Linked DNA regions of Homo sapiens: region 2 is linked to region 1. The links are contacts of gene promoters, found by promoter capture Hi-C in blood cells and fetal thymus (Javierre and others, 2016). All regions are on one chromosome and are shown on one strand. Each heading gives the region's core, a stretch centred on a gene start or on the middle of the fragment in contact. The rest is flanking DNA. Distances are from core to core; before and after follow the strand shown.

What was found. Contacts are between HindIII fragments. The CHiCAGO score rates a contact against its expected background, and 5 or more counts as called.
Region 2: a contact is called between the fragment with the promoter of CEACAM16-AS1 here and the fragment with the promoter of SIGLEC9 in region 1, in 1 of 17 cell types (activated CD4 T cells). The highest score is 7.1, in activated CD4 T cells.

What each region holds. Positions count from the first base shown.
Region 1 is chr19:51,122,969-51,130,030 of GRCh38, reverse strand. It overlaps SIGLEC9 (sialic acid binding Ig like lectin 9), which reads right to left and starts at 5,125. Exons shown (of 7, transcript NM_014441.3): 1 at 4,636-5,125; 2 at 4,156-4,434; 3 at 3,903-3,950; 4 at 2,735-3,001; 5 at 1,992-2,082; 6 at 1,521-1,617; 7 at 1-140. The coding sequence starts at 5,056. RefSeq lists an enhancer at 1,055-1,104. The HindIII fragment of the contact is 17,590 bases long and covers 1-7,062 here.
Region 2 is chr19:44,723,547-44,731,311 of GRCh38, reverse strand. CEACAM16-AS1 (CEACAM16, CEACAM19 and PVR antisense RNA 1) reads left to right here and starts at 6,129. Exons shown (of 2, transcript NR_186815.1): 1 at 6,129-6,475. The HindIII fragment of the contact is 7,565 bases long and covers 1,655-7,765 here.

The DNA.
Region 1 (7,062 bases), core at 3,876-6,375:
CCCCGCGAGTCCCAAGGCTTCACCATCTGGAAGCTGAGGGATGCATACTGGAGCTCTCCTTCCCCCACTGAGGAGCGGGCAGAAGCTGGGGGAGGCTGGTCTGGGGGACTGTCTTCTGCCCAAGGTTCAGTCAGGGGCCCCTGAGACATGGGAGAGAGAAGTGAGTCAGAGCAGACAGTGAGGATGGGGCGCGGTGGCTCACATCTGTAATCCCAGCTCTTCAGGAGGCTGAGGTAGGCGGATCACCTGAGGTCAGGAGTTTGAGACCAGCCTGGCCAACATGGTGAAACCCTGTCTCTACTAAAAATACAAAATTAGCCAGGTGTGGTGGTGTGCACCTTTAATCCCAGCTACTCAGGAGGCTGAGGCAGGAGAATCGCTTGAACCTAGGAGGCAGAGGTTGCAGTAAGCCAAGATTGTGCCACTGCACTACATCCTGGGTGACAGAGCGAGACTCCATCTCAAAAAACAAAAACAAACAAACGAAAAAATGCACTTGAGGCAACAGCCTCACTCACTTCACCCTTGTTCTTGCCCTAGTGGAGAGGTAGGTGCTTAAAAGGTCAGAATGTGGCCGGTCACAGTGGCTCACGCCTGTAATCCCAGCACTTCGGGAAGCCAAGGTGGGCAGATCACAAGGTCAGGAGACTGAGACCATCCTGGCTAACACAGTGAAACCCCGTCTCTACTAAAAATACAAAAAAATTAGCTGGGCGTGGTGGCAGGCGCCTGTAGTCCCAGCTACTCCGGAGGCTGAGGCAGGAGAATGGCTTGAACCCGGAAGGTGGAAGTTGCAGTGAGCAGAGATCGCACCACTGCACTCCAGCCTGGGCGACAGAGCAAGACTCTGTCTCAAAAACAACAACAACAAAAAAAAAAAAAAACAAAAAAAGTCAGAATGTGCACTGCTGCAGGCTATAGAGTTTGGGATTTTTACTCTAGATCAGGGGTTGTCAAACTACAGTATCTGAGTCATATCCAGCCCACTCTTTATGTTTGTGAATAGTTTTATTGGCACACAGCCATATTCATTTGTTTACACAGGGTATATGGCTTCTTTCTTGCTACAACAGCAGATTTGAGGAGCTGCAATGAGACTGTGTGGCCCATGAAGCCGAAAATAGTTTCTATCTGTCCCTGACAGATAGTATTTGCTGGCTTCTGCTCTAAACGGTATTGAGGGGTGGGGGAACAGCTGTTCAAATGCAGAGGAACTGGACGATGATGTCTTCTGGACAGTCCCCCCAGGCAGGAAAGGAGAGGAGACAGGCAGACAGGTGAGGGAACAAAAGACAGAGATCCTCAGGCCTCAGCAATGAAGGGTCAGGATAGGGAGCAGAGACAATAAAAGCTGTTCTTAGGGGAGGAAACCAACCAAACATTGTGATTTGGGGCTACAGAGAAGAAAGGAAGAACAGAGAGGAGGTAACTTTGGCTACGCCCAGCTGATTAGTCCTGGGGGTCATCCTGTGGGAGGTGTCCAGGCTACATGCTGGCTGTGGAGAGTCCACATCACTCACCTGAGAGGCTGAACCCCTGACAGCGTTTGCATCCTCTATGCCCGTATCTCCCACGCCCGCTGCTGGCCTTGCCGATTTCTTCCTGCAGGACCTCACTCTGAGTGAAGAGACCAGAGAGCCTTTCAGTGTGGTCAGATTGGGGTGCGGTGGGCAGACCAGGTACCCCCATGTGTTTCCTATTAAGGGACTGCAGGGGTGACTGAGGTGGGAAAGCAGTGGTCCAGTCTTAGAGACCCCAAGGTTGAGAACAGAGGCTCTCTTCTCCTGGACAGTGGGTACCAAGGTTTGCCACAGACTCAAAGCTCCTCAAACACAGGCCCACATGGAATTCTCACCATGCACCTGTGACCTCCTTCTTGCCCCAAGCTCTTGACCCATCCAGGTCCCTCCAGCTCTGGCTTCAGGGATCCAGCTTCCAGCCTGTCCTCCCCCAGGGCTCTCCCTCCCTCCCTCTCTAGGGTCCATGCTTACACAACGAAGATGACGCAGAAGGACAGGAAGACCAGGGCTGTGGCTCCAGCTCCCCCGACCACCCCCTGAGTCACTCCTGATGTGGCTTTGCCTGTTGACAGATGGGAGTTATTTTTGTGATATATCATAGAGAATTGGGTCTCTTCTCCTCCCACTTCCTGTAGGGTCCTAGACTTCTATTTCCACTTCCCCTTTCCAGACACAAAGAACAGGAATGAGAGAGAGCAGGACATGGAGAGACTCTTCCTGAGGCCAGTGAGGCGTGCAAGTGCCAGCCATTCCTTTTGGGGTTTTTTTTCACAATTTTAATATTTTATCCATTAATGAATTTGTTTTGCATTCAATTTTTACTTTTTTTAAAAGATTATTGCATTGCAATATGATTTCATTTGATTGCTGACTTGCTGGGCTTTTTCTTTTTTTTAATTTGATGCTCAAAGCAAGTATCTCAGTTGTGTGACTCCAGTTCAGCCCTGCAAAGAAAGGCGCTTGTCTCCCTAAACACACCTGTCCGGCCCCATCCTGTCCCCTCTGAGATCCACTCCTGCCCTCTCCCCACCCCACAACCCTTCCCTGGCAGGAAGAGGACAGTGGTGCTGTGGGTCCCAGGGAAGTTCCAGACCTCACAGCTGAGCACAGACCAGAGCGGAGCTCCTCTCTGAAGGTCCACGCTCAGCAGTTACTAAGGGTGGAGGAGGTGTGTTCTCCTCTCCAGCCCCTCCCCAGCATACTGGTGCACTCACTCTGCAGGGAGACGTTCAGGTAGACCTGCTGAGAGCCGAGAGGGTTCTGAGCTCTGCAGGTGAATTCAGCTGCATCCCTCAGGTGCACCCAAGGCAGCTCCAGCACCCCCGGGTTTGAGGGCTGTGAGGGGCACAGGGTCAGGCCTCTCCAGCTCAGGCTCAGCCTGGCAGGGGGATTGCTGTCAACTGCATCAACTGCACAGACCAGGCGCAGAGACTGGCCCTCTGGGAGTGACAGAGATGAGCCATTTCCCAAGACTGTGGATACTGTAGAAAAAGAGACAGAGGGTCAGAGAGATACATAGATCTGGAGAAAAAGGAAGGATACAGAAAGAGACTGATGACAGCAACTGACACACAGACATAGACTGAAGTTCTGGAAACACACACTTTCACCACTCACTGCTGGGAATGTAAACTTCTCCCCGCTTCATCGAGAACAGTTTGGGCTTATCTTTCAAAATAAGAAAGAACATATAATGTAGCTACATTTTGCTTTTAGGAACTTAACCCACAGGCTTAGATATTCCTGTGGAAGTAGATACAAGATTGTTCTATCCTGCCGTAGGATGAAATTAGTGCCGTGATCTTCCATTAGGAGATGCCACAAAATCAGAGTCCATCCATGCAGTGGACTCACACACAGCCCTAGAGGAGGGTGCGGACAGTCTCACTACGGACGTCAAACCACCTCTGAGATCCTCCAGGTGTACAAACCGAGACTCAGGGCAGCCTGGATGGACAGTGGTTGGTTCTGGGGAGGGGGGCAGGCATCGGAGGAGAGCCTTTGCTCTGCAATTTGAATTTTTGCCCATGGACATTTATCACCTGTCCAGAAGTACTTAGATCAGAACTATCAGAAATAAACAGATAAGGGTGGAGATGTATTCAGGAGATACATGAGAAGGAGCCTCAAAGCCTGGTCCTGCTGTGTGAATGCCACCCTCTTCTTGTTTGAGGCTGAGGGGGGGGTGTGTGGGGGAGTCCAAGGGAGGTGATGGGAGGATGGGAACAAGTGGCCTTGGGGCCTAAGGATACAGAGGGGCCCTGAGTTCACCCACAAGGACATCCCTGTTTGCCAAAGTGAGTCCAGGTTGAGGAATAAGCCAGCCCCATCCTGACCTGAAGGCCCTGCTCCTCCAGCCCCAGGGAGGGAGCTCCATCCTACCTGTGCCGTCTCCTTGGAAGACAGTCATGGTCAAGTTCTGAGGCGGGTCTGGGACAGAAAGACATGGAGACCCGCATCACTGTGAGGGCTGGGGACACTGGCCCTGTCTGTCCCCAGGAGCCGCATAAACAGGGAAGGCAGAGCCAGTGTCCTCCTGACCCCACCACCAGCCCAGATTCCGGGACCCAGCACCCAGTGTCCAGGCTTGACGCTCACCCCATCAGGGACCCAGGCGTCCCGGCCCAGCACTCACAGGACACGTTGAGATGGACGGTCTTGTTCGTGGTCACGCTGGCCCCAGGGAAGGTCACCTGACAGGTGAGGCTGGTGCCATGGTCCTGGGGCTGTGGGATGAGGGTGAGCACCGAGGAGCGGGTGGTGGAGGGGTCCAGGGGGGACACGGAGGTCCCTATCCAGGAGATCATAGGGGGTGTCCCCTGCTCACAGGCCCAGGGCACAGAGCAGGTCAGATTCTGGGGGCAGCCGGACTCCAGGGTGCCTGGGATGAGGATGTTGGGCCTGTGGGTCAAGGCTGGTGAAGAGAGGGGGACTCAGGATCAGGTCAGAGGATCCATGGTGCAGCCCTGGGGGGAGCTCAGGCTCTGGTCCAGCTCCTGCCCTGAGCCAACTCGCTTCACCCTAAGCCCTCTCCTGGGGCAGGGGCTCCATCCCAGCCTTTCCCTGCCGCCCCCATGACCTTTCCCTGTGGCCTTTCCTGGAGCCTGTGCCTTACCTGTCACATTCACAGAGAGCCGGTGATGTTTATAATTCCATTTTATACTTCCTTTCTCCATACGAAAGAAGTATCTCCCCGCATCACTTCTTCTGGCATCTCTGATGCTCAGGGTGCAATTCTTGGTATGTGGGTCCCCAAGGAGGTGGAATCGGTCCCGAGTCTCCTCCCACACTGCCCGAGCTGGGTTGTTTGTGGCCACTGGAGCATCCTGGTCTGTATTGGCCCCTTCCCGGAACCAGTAGCCATGAACTACTGGGCCAGGGTAAATCCAGCCATGCGAGGGGTAGGAGAAGGAGCAGGGCACATGGACACACAGGCCTTCCTGCACCGTCACGGAACTCTGCATCGTCAGCAGTTTACTTGTCTGTCCTTCCGCCCTCTCCCTCCCCCAGAGCAGGGGCAGCAGCAGCAGCAGCATGTCTGGGGTTAGAGGTGCCAGGGCCGCGAGGGAACGTCTGTTCCTCAGGGTTCTTCTCTCAGGAACTGCGGGCTCAAGACTTAGAGGAGGCCCTACAGGAAGACAGGGGCGAGGTCGGAACAGTGACCTCCTCAGAGGAGGAACTTTACACCCAGACACTGTCAGGCCCGGGTCAGCCCTGGGAGATCCACCGTCCACCACCCCATGTTCACTCCTGGGTCCCTGAGGCCAGAGCGGGAGACAGACTCACCCAGATTCCCACCCCATGCAGGGCCCACCCCACCTCCTGCCTCCCTCTCAATGCCCTTCCCCTTAGGTGACATTTTCTGCAGGGTGAAAATGAGTCCCATCTGGCCAGACCCCTGAGTCAGAGGCTGTGGATATCTGCGTAGCTCAGAGGTGGGACTTGGGGCCATGAGAGATGGGGGTGCAGGTGGGGTGAGCAGGCAGCCTCTCATCCCCCCCAAGCAAGCACGAGGTGGGCACCCCCTTTCTGCACAACGAGGTCAACACAGCAGAGCTGGACACTGTCCCCAAGGGGTCACTGTGCGGAGGGGAGACATGGAGGCTCCTGACGTCTGAGCTGTCCACGGCAGGAGCTTCAGTTGGGGGGCACAGGCAGGATGGGGTCACTCTCCCGTAGGTCAGGGGTTCAATCTCAGGAGGACTGAGCAGAGGGACATGGGGCTGTGGAGGTGAGGATTCTATGTGTTGATACACGCCAAGGACACAGAGGGGAGCCTGGCTCGCAGGAGGTCTGGGAAACTGAGGCTGTGACTGTTGTACTGTGGGGCTTGGAAGGGAGGAAATTCGGAAGAAAAGGGGCAGATTTCAAAAGGGAAGATATTTCTCCTTTCCTCACTGCACCACGAAGGGTTTCTTCACCACCGATGTCTCGCTCAGCCACACTTCCCTGGTTACTCCAGAACATGAGGGATCAGCTGGCCCTGGGGCTTTGCTTCTGCAAGCTCTGCTCCCAGGGGTCCCGGTGAACAGGAGATGTGGAGTGAGGACACCAGCCCCGGGGCATGCACCCTCCGCGATGGGCAGGATTTCATGGGAGAAGAAACATGCACCTGAATTCAGCAGAAGATTTTTTGTAACTGTGTGGCTGGGCTGGGAGGAACTGGGAGTATCCTGTGTGGTGGAGCCTCCTTAGACCGATGTCAGTTTTCTAGAAATATTTTTGGGAGAAATATAAGCCATATAGATAAAAATGTCTTCCCCCCAAGAAAAAATCTCAGCGGTTTACACATATGAACATGCTTAGAGAAACAGAACACTGGGGATGCCGCAACACCTCCTCTTTGTTACCCCACTTCCTGTCAGCCACACCCCACTTCCTCCTGAAGCAGCCCCAGCCTCACTTTAACGCTAATGGTCTCCATGCTTTTCTAGGTAGTTTTATCATCTGTGCACGTTGCCGTGAATACCTCAGGCCCCCATGTTTGCCCAGTCGCTCCCTGGGAAGTTGCAGCATCTCAACTGCAATGGTCAGAAGGGCTGAGCCATGGCTGACAGTGTTGTCCTGCATCTGTTCTGCAGGGCTGGGTGTCCACATCTGAGTTCTGTCTTGAGCAGGAGGGGCTCAGTCAGGCCTCTCAGCACTGCTCCCCTGGGGCCCTCCACACCTGCAGAGCCAACACGGGCCTCAGATTAGCATCGGCCACTTCAATTCTAACTCAGGCGGGACAGGACAGCTCAGCCCCACCTGGAACTCGGGGAACAATCCTTCGGCTTCCCTAGAAAAGAGCAGGCCTGCTCACCTGGAGTAGTAGCTCCAGGTGAGGCCATGGGGGTTGGGGGGAAGCCAGTGCCCAGGATGGCCCCCTGATCAGGTGAGAACCAGGGGCCAGAAGCCCTCCTGCTTTTCACTCACACATCTGTAGCCAGAGGGGCTTCCTGGGAAAGGGTAGAAGCGTGTGAGATTCTGTTCCCAGGCCTCCACCCCTCTGACAGCCCAAACACCCGACTAGGCTGCCTGCCTCAGCAGCTGTCCTGCAACT
Region 2 (7,765 bases), core at 4,880-7,379, 6.4 Mb after region 1:
TTGGGAGGCTGAGGCACTTGAATCCAGGAGGTGGAGATTGCAGTGAGCTGTGATCTTGCCACCGAACTCCTGCCTGGGTGACAGAGCGAGACTCTCTCAAAAATAAATCAATTAAATTAATTAAAATTAAATTAAAGAAGGAGTATGCTAGATGAGTTCTGATAAACATGTACAATCATTTAATCATATCCTGATCAAGATATAGAACATTTCTAGTGCCCGGAAAAGGTCCACTGTGCCCTCCTTGCAGTCATCTCCTCCCCTTGTCCCCAGACACTGGCAGCCACTAATCTGCTTTTTCTTTTCTTTTTTTTTTTTTGAGATGGAGTCTCACTCTATTGCCAGGCTGGAGTGCAGTGGCACGGTCTCGGCTCACTGCAACCTCTGCCTCCCTGGTTCAAGTGATTCTCCTGCCTCAGCCTCCCTAGTAGCTGGGACTACAGGCGCCCGCCACCATGCCTGGCTAATTTTTGAATTTTTAGTAGAGACGGGGTTTCACCATGTTGGCCAGGATGGTCTCGATCTATTGACCTTGTGATCTGCCCGCCTCGGCCTCCCAAAGTGCTGGGATTACAGGCGTGAGCCACCGCGCCCGGCCTCTTTTCTTTTCTTTTTCTTTTTCTTTTTTCTTTTTTTTTTTTTTGAGACATTTTGCTCTGTCACCCAGGCTGGAGTGCAGGGGCGCGATCTCTGCTTGCTGCAGCCTCTGCCTCCCGGGTTCAAGTGATTCTTCTGCCTCAGCCTCCCCAGTAGCTGGGATTACAGGCAGGCACCACCATGTCCGGCTAATTTTTGTATTTTTAGTAGAGACGAGGTTTCACCATGTTGGCCAGGCTGGTCTTGAATTCCTGACCTCAAGTGATCCACCCACCTCAGCCTCCCAAAGTTCTGGGATTACAGGCATGAGCCACCACACTCAGCTATATCTGCCTTTTTTTTTTTTTTTTGAGATGGGGTCTTGCTCTGTCACCCAGGCTGGAGTGCAGTGGCACGATCTCGGCTTACTGCAACCTCCACCTCCCGGGTTCCAGCGATTCTCCTGCCTTGGCCTCCTGAGTAGCTGGTATTACAGGTGCCTGCCACCACGCCCGGCTAATTTTTGTATTTTTAGTAGAGGTGGGGTTTCACCATGTTGCCCAGGCTGGTCTCAAACTCCTGACCTCAAGTGATCCACCTGCCTCAGCCTCCCAAAGTACTGGGATTACAGGTGTGAGCCGCCACACCCAGCTGCTTTTTATCCCTATAAATTTGCTTTTCCAGGATGACATGTAAATGGGATTACAGAGTATGTAGTCCTTAAAAAAAAATCATTGACAAATTTACCTACAGTAAAATTCACTCTTTTCATCATACATTTCTTTTCTTTCTTTCTTTCTTTCTTTTTTTTTTTGAGGAATGTTCTCACTCTGTCACCCAGGCTGGAGTGCAGCGGTGCGATCACCACTCACTGCAGCCTCAACCTTTCAGGCTCTAGCGATCGTCCCGCCTCAGCTTCCTCATTAGCTGGAACTACAAGTGCACGCCACCAAGCCCAGCTAATTTTTGTATTTATGGTAGAGATGGGGTCTCACTATGTTGCCCAGGCTGGTCTTCAACTCCTGGCCTCTTGCTTTGGCCTCTCGAAGTGCCTGTGGGGCATGCAGTTCTTAAAGCTTTGACAGGCTCATGTGGCTGTGTAGTCACCACCAGAATCAAAATATGGATATGTCCCACCACCCCTAAAACCCTTCATCTGCCCTTTTGGGGTCACGCCCATCCCCCACCCCACCCCTGGCAACCACAGGTCTGTTTTCTGTCCCTCTAGTTTTGCCTTTTTCAGAGTGTCTTGTAAATGGAGTAATGTAGTTATTATCATTATCATCATCATCATCATCACCATCATCATCAATATTTTTATAGAGATGGGGTCTCACCATGTTGCCCAGGCTGGTCTCAAACTCCTGGGCTCAAGCAATTCTCTCACCTTGGCCTCCCAAAGTGCTGGGATTACAGGCGTGAGCCACTGCACTCGGCTGAACACTGTAATTTTTGAGCATAGCTTCTTTCACTCAATATAACACAGTTGAGGTCCATCCACGTTGTGTGTATCAATAGCAGTTAGTCTTCACTGCTGAGTGATATTCCATTGTGTGGATGGACCACAGCTCGCTTATCCACATACAAGCTGAAGGACATTTGGGTTGTTTACAGTTGTTGGCAATTATGAACAGAGCTGCTGTGAGTGTGTGTGCATACAGTTTTTTTGTGTGAAAATAGGTTTTCATTTCTCTCGGGTCAATACCGAGGAATAAAATTGTTGGATCCTATGGGAAGTGTGTATTTAACCTTGCGGGAAGTTGGCAAACCATTTTCCAAAGTGGCTGCTCGGGGCTTGCACGCCCACCAGCAGCCTGTGGGAGTTCTGGCTGTAGAGCTACGAGGTGAATCCGGGTCTGAGAGATGACACTGAGGTCTTAGGCACCACGCCACACCACTCCTGAAATATAATAACAATTGCGGCAAGAGCTCTCGTCTGTCCACAAGTCGACACTGTGCATGCAATTATTAAAAAAAAAAAAAAAAAAAAGAAGGTGCTGATGCGGTGTGATTTTCCAGATGTATTGCTGTATTGCTAGGGGAAAATGCAGGCCACAGCAAGACTGTGCACCATTTGCAAAGCGGCCCCCGCCTGTAATCCCAGCACTTTGCAAGGGCAAGGTGGATGGATCACTTGAGCCCAGGAGTTCGAGATCAGCCTGGGCAACGTGGTAAAACCCCGTCTCTACCAAAAATACAAAAATTAGCTGGGCATGGTGGTGCGTGCTTATGGCCCCAGCTACTAGGGCGGCTGAGGTGGGAGGATCATTTGAGTCCAGGATGTGGAAGCAGCAGTGAGCTATGCTGGCACCACTGTACTCCAGCCTGGGTGACAGAGTGAGACCCTGTCTCAAAACAAAACAAAACAAAAAAACGGAAACTGGGAGGTGAGAACAGGACTGGGGAGGGAGGGGCAGAGTCGTGGTGGGGAAGTGACAGCTCACTGCCATTTGGTCCTTTTTGAATTTTGGAACTTGTGAACACCTTACCTTTTCAAAACACACACACAATTCATTCACTCTGCTAACAGGTTTTCCAGGCCCTGCCCTGGTGTTGAACAACTAAGATTCCTGCCCTTGGGGAGCCACAGACTCGTCCATCCATCCAGGAGACAGTCAACAAGACAAGGAAAATACAGCCAATGGTATGTATTTGCTATGGAGAAAAATAAAACTGGTGAGGGAATGAGGGAGATGGAGCATAGGAAGTGGAAGCTGTTGTTTAAATCTGGTGGCCAAGGGAGGCCCTCCAAGGAATGACGTTTGGGGCTAAGACTTGAGTGAGGGGAGGGAATGAACCATGTGGACATCTGGGGGAAGAGTATTCTAGGCAGAGGGAACAGCAAGTGCCAAGGCCCAGAGGTGGGTCGGAACAGCTGTTGGAGGCCAGTGTAGCTGGAGCAGGATGAGCTGGGGGAGAGTGGGAGGATGGGGAGAGGGGAAGGGTGGCAAGGAGATGGCTCAGGATCTTATGAGCCACTGTAGGGACATAGGCTTTTACTCAGAGGGAGATGGGAGCCATGGAGGGTTCTGGGCAGGGGAGGGATAATCTGACTTCATTTTTTATTTTTTTTCGAGATGGAGTCTCGCTCTGTCGCCCAGGCTGGAGTGTAGTGATGCCATCTGGGCTCACTGCAACCTCCGCCTCCCAGGTTCAAGCGATTCTCCTGCCTCAGCCTCCTGAGTAGCTGGAATTACAGGCATGTGCCACCAGGCCCAGCTAATTTTTATATTTTTAAAATAGAGACAGGGTTTCACCACGTTGGTCAGGTACCATGTTGGCCAACTCCTGACCTCAGGTACTCTATCTGCCTCGGCCTCCCAAAGTGCTGGAATTACAGGCATGAGCCACCATGCCCAGGCCAGGTTTTAATTTAATTTAATTTGTTATTATTATTACTGTTTAGAGACAGGGTCTCACTGTGTTGCCCAGGCTGGAGTACAGTGGTGCCATCTTGGCTTACTATAGCCTCGACCTCCTGGGCTCAAGCGATCCTCCCGCCTCAGCCTTCTGATGACTTAGGTGTTAACAGGATCCCTGTGGCTGCATGTGGGGGAAAGACAGGTCCTTGTGGAGGTGCAGCAAGGACCCAGGCAGGGAGTCCCATGAGGAGGTGACTGCATGGTCCGGGCCTTCAGTGATGGTGGCTGGACCAGAGTGGGAACTTTTTTTTTTTTTTGAGACAGAGTCTTGCACTGTCACCCAGGCTGGAGTGCAGTCGCATGATCTTGGCTCACTGCAGCCTCCACCTCCCGGATTCAAGCGATTCTCATGCCTCAGCCTCCTGAGTAGCTGGGATTACAGGCGCATGCCACCACACCCAGCTAAGTTTTGTATTTTTTGTAGAGACGGGTTTTCACCATGTTGCCCAGGCTGGTCTCGAACTCCTGGGCTCAAGTGATCTGCCTGCCTTGGCCTCTCAGAGTGCTGGGATTACAGGCATAAGCCACCTTGCCCAGCCACCATTTTTTTTTTTTTTTTTTGAGGTTGAGTCTCTCTGTGTCGCCCAGGCTGGAGTACAGTGGCGCAATCTCGGCTCACTGCAACCTCTGCCTCTGGGGTTCAATCGGTTCTCGTGACCTCAGGTGATCCACTTACCTCAGCCTCCCAGAGTGCTGGGAAATACAGGTGTAGGCCACCGCGCCCGGCCCTACATCTTTACTTCTTTTGGTCGTGGGGGCTTTTGGAGAGGTACAGGGAACCAGGAGACGGAGGACAGAGAGGACCCAGGGGACCGGGCCTGGCCTGTTTGAGCTGAGACCTGAAGAGCATGGGGAAGTGTTTGAAGGAGGTGAACAAAAGGCTTTATTAGAAAACCAGAAAGGAGGCTGGGCGCGGTGGTGCATACCTGTAGTCCAAGCATTTTGGGAGGCTGAGGCGGGAGGATCGCTTGAGCCCAGGAGTTTAAGACCAGCCTGGGCAATGAGTGAGACCCTATCGCTAAAAAAAAAATTTAAAAATTTACCCAGGTGTGGTGGCATGTGCCTGTAGTCTCAGCTACTCAGGAGACTGAGGTGGGAGGATTGCTTGAGCCCAGGAGGTTGAGGCTGCAGTGAGCTATGATGGCACCACTGCATTCCAGCCTGGGGCCAGAGCAAGACCCTGTCTTAAAAAAAAAAAAAAAAAAAGAAAAAGAAAAGAAAAGAAAGAAAAAGAAAAAAAAATACAAGCAGTGAGTGGTCAGGCTGTGGCTGTGGCACAGCACTTGGCTTTCTCCTGGGGGCACTGGGGAGCCATGGCAGATTCTGACCAGGGGTCAGGGTTGGGTTTCCAAGGACGCCTCTGGGTGTGGTGCGGGCAGGGAGACCAGCTGTGCAGCAAGACACCAGGTGGCCTGGGTTAGGAGGTGGGTCAAAGAGGGAGGGGTGAAGGTTACCAATCATAGATTTAGGAGGCAATTTTCTTGGAAGGAAAGGGTGGGGTGCATGCTGGCTTGCTGGCGCCACTATCAGCCACTGTCCCAAGGTTTTCTTGTGCGTAAACTCATGGAGCGTTCACCACCACCCACTAGGTATCCTCATTGCACAGCTGGGGAAACTGAGGCTGAGAGAGACACACTCGCTGGCCCCAGATCTCACACAGCAGGTTATAGGAGCCAGCATTCAAACTCCTGGAGTCTGACTCCAGAGCTTGGACATTTTCACGCCCCTGACTCCTTAAAGCTGGAGAAGCTGAGGCTCCCAGTTGGGGTGAAGTTCCAGGTTCAAGACCACACAGCCGGGAACTAGAAAGGAAGGATTGAACCCACACCTTACCATGGGACACGGCCCTGCCCATCCCCTCTCCTCCCAGCAGCGTGAGGGCTCGACCTCCGGGGAGTCCCCGTTCTGGGTTGGGCGCCACTCCTCCCTCCCTATCCGCTTCGCGCCCGGAGCTCTCTCCGGACTTTAACCCTGGGCCGCCACTGGTGGCGACGCTGCCGATAAGGGGAGGTGGTTGGTGCAGAGGCCAGCAGGGCAAAATTCCCCTACTCCCGGTGCCAGGGGAGTTACCCAGGTCAGGGGCGGGGGCGGGGGAGGGCAGGGGCAGAGGAGCGGGCGGAGGGGGAGGTGGAGGCATCTGCAGCTGGACAGAGAAGTGGTGCTTTGTTTCTCTGTGCCTCAGTTTCCCTCTTGGTAAAATAGGCATGGTTCCTCCTATGGATGTAAGAAGGACCTAGGAACCTTTGCAAGGGCAGAGGAGTCCGCCCCTCTGGTCTGACTGGGAGACAAGGTGTTCCCCAATCTGATGGTGGGGACAAGGTGGCCCAACACAGTGGGAAAAATAAGGAAACTAAGGAGCTCTCACCAAATCCCATGAGGGAGACAGGACTGTCCAAATCCAATGAAGAAGATAAGAAGCTCCAGTCCTGTGCAGCAAGAACGAGTGTCCAGTCTATATTTCCAGTCTGCCAGGGGAGGTAAGGAGCAACATTCTGATGTGTAAGACAATGTATTTATTTTTGTGAGTCAGAGTCTCGCTCTGTCGCCCAGGCTGGAGTGCAGTGGTGTGATCTTGGCTCACTGCAACCTGTGCCTCCTGGGTTCAAGCGATTCTCCTGCCTCAGCCTCCTGAGTAGCTGGGATTACAGACGCACACCACCACGCCTGGCTAATTTGTTATTTTTAGTAGAGACCGGGTTTCACCGTGTTGGCCAGGTTTGTCTTGAATTTCTGACCTCAGGTGATCCTCCTGCCTCGGCCTCCCAAAGTGCTTGGATTACAGGCGGGAGCCACTGCACCTGGCCAGGAGTGATACTTTGATGTGTGAGACAATGCAGTTCTAATTTGATGGGGGAGATGGGTAGTCCTAGTCTGATGGGGGTGTTGAAGGGCTCCCATGCCTTCTGGGAGAGCTGATGAGCTTCCAAATGAATGATAGAAATGGGGAGCCCCTCAAACTGGTGGGGAGACAAAGAGCCTGCTAGTCTGATGAGGGAGGTAAGAATCTTCCTGTCTGAAGTGGGAGCCAGGGTGCTCCCGTCTGAGATTCCAAGGTGAGGAAAGAGACGAAGAACATACTCACTGCAGCTCAGCCAGCTCCTTCCTGAGCCTGGGAGTCAAATGGCCCCAGGATGCCTGGCCAGGGAGCCAGGACCAAAAGACAGAGACGATTTGCTCTCCTGACCCAGGGGCAGTTCTGCCCAGCTCTGGGCCTGATCTACTTTTGGCAAAAAAAGACCTGGCTGGTGGTGTACGGGCACCACCTAGCGGTTGCCATGGGCACGCCTTCCATCCGGAGCTTGGGGAGAGCAGCTCCTTGGAAGACCAGAGAAGGGCTCCTTGGACTCTCTCCCTGGGACCTGGGTCCAAGTACCAAACTACCCCTGAAACTGGATTCTGTGCATCATTCCATTCACCCTGCATGTGGCAGCTGGGGGAGTCTCTTGGAAGTACAAGCCTACCTCTGTCTGTCCCTTGCTCACAACTCTGCAGTGGCTCCCTGGTGCCCTGGGAGGAAGTCCACACCCGGCCACAAGGCTGGCTTCTTCTGAACAACCCTATGCTTCAGTTGAACAATAAGTAGTTTCTCAAAGGTGTCATATGCAAAACTTACCTTCAGGCCTTCGCACAGGCTGTTCCCTCTGCCAGGAACACCCTTCCCTGCCTCTTCCCCAGCATCTCTCCTACTCCTCCTTCAGGTCTTGGAGTAGATGTCTCCGCCCTCGTGAGCCCCCTGGTCAGGGTCATGGTCTGGTGGGGCTGTCGTG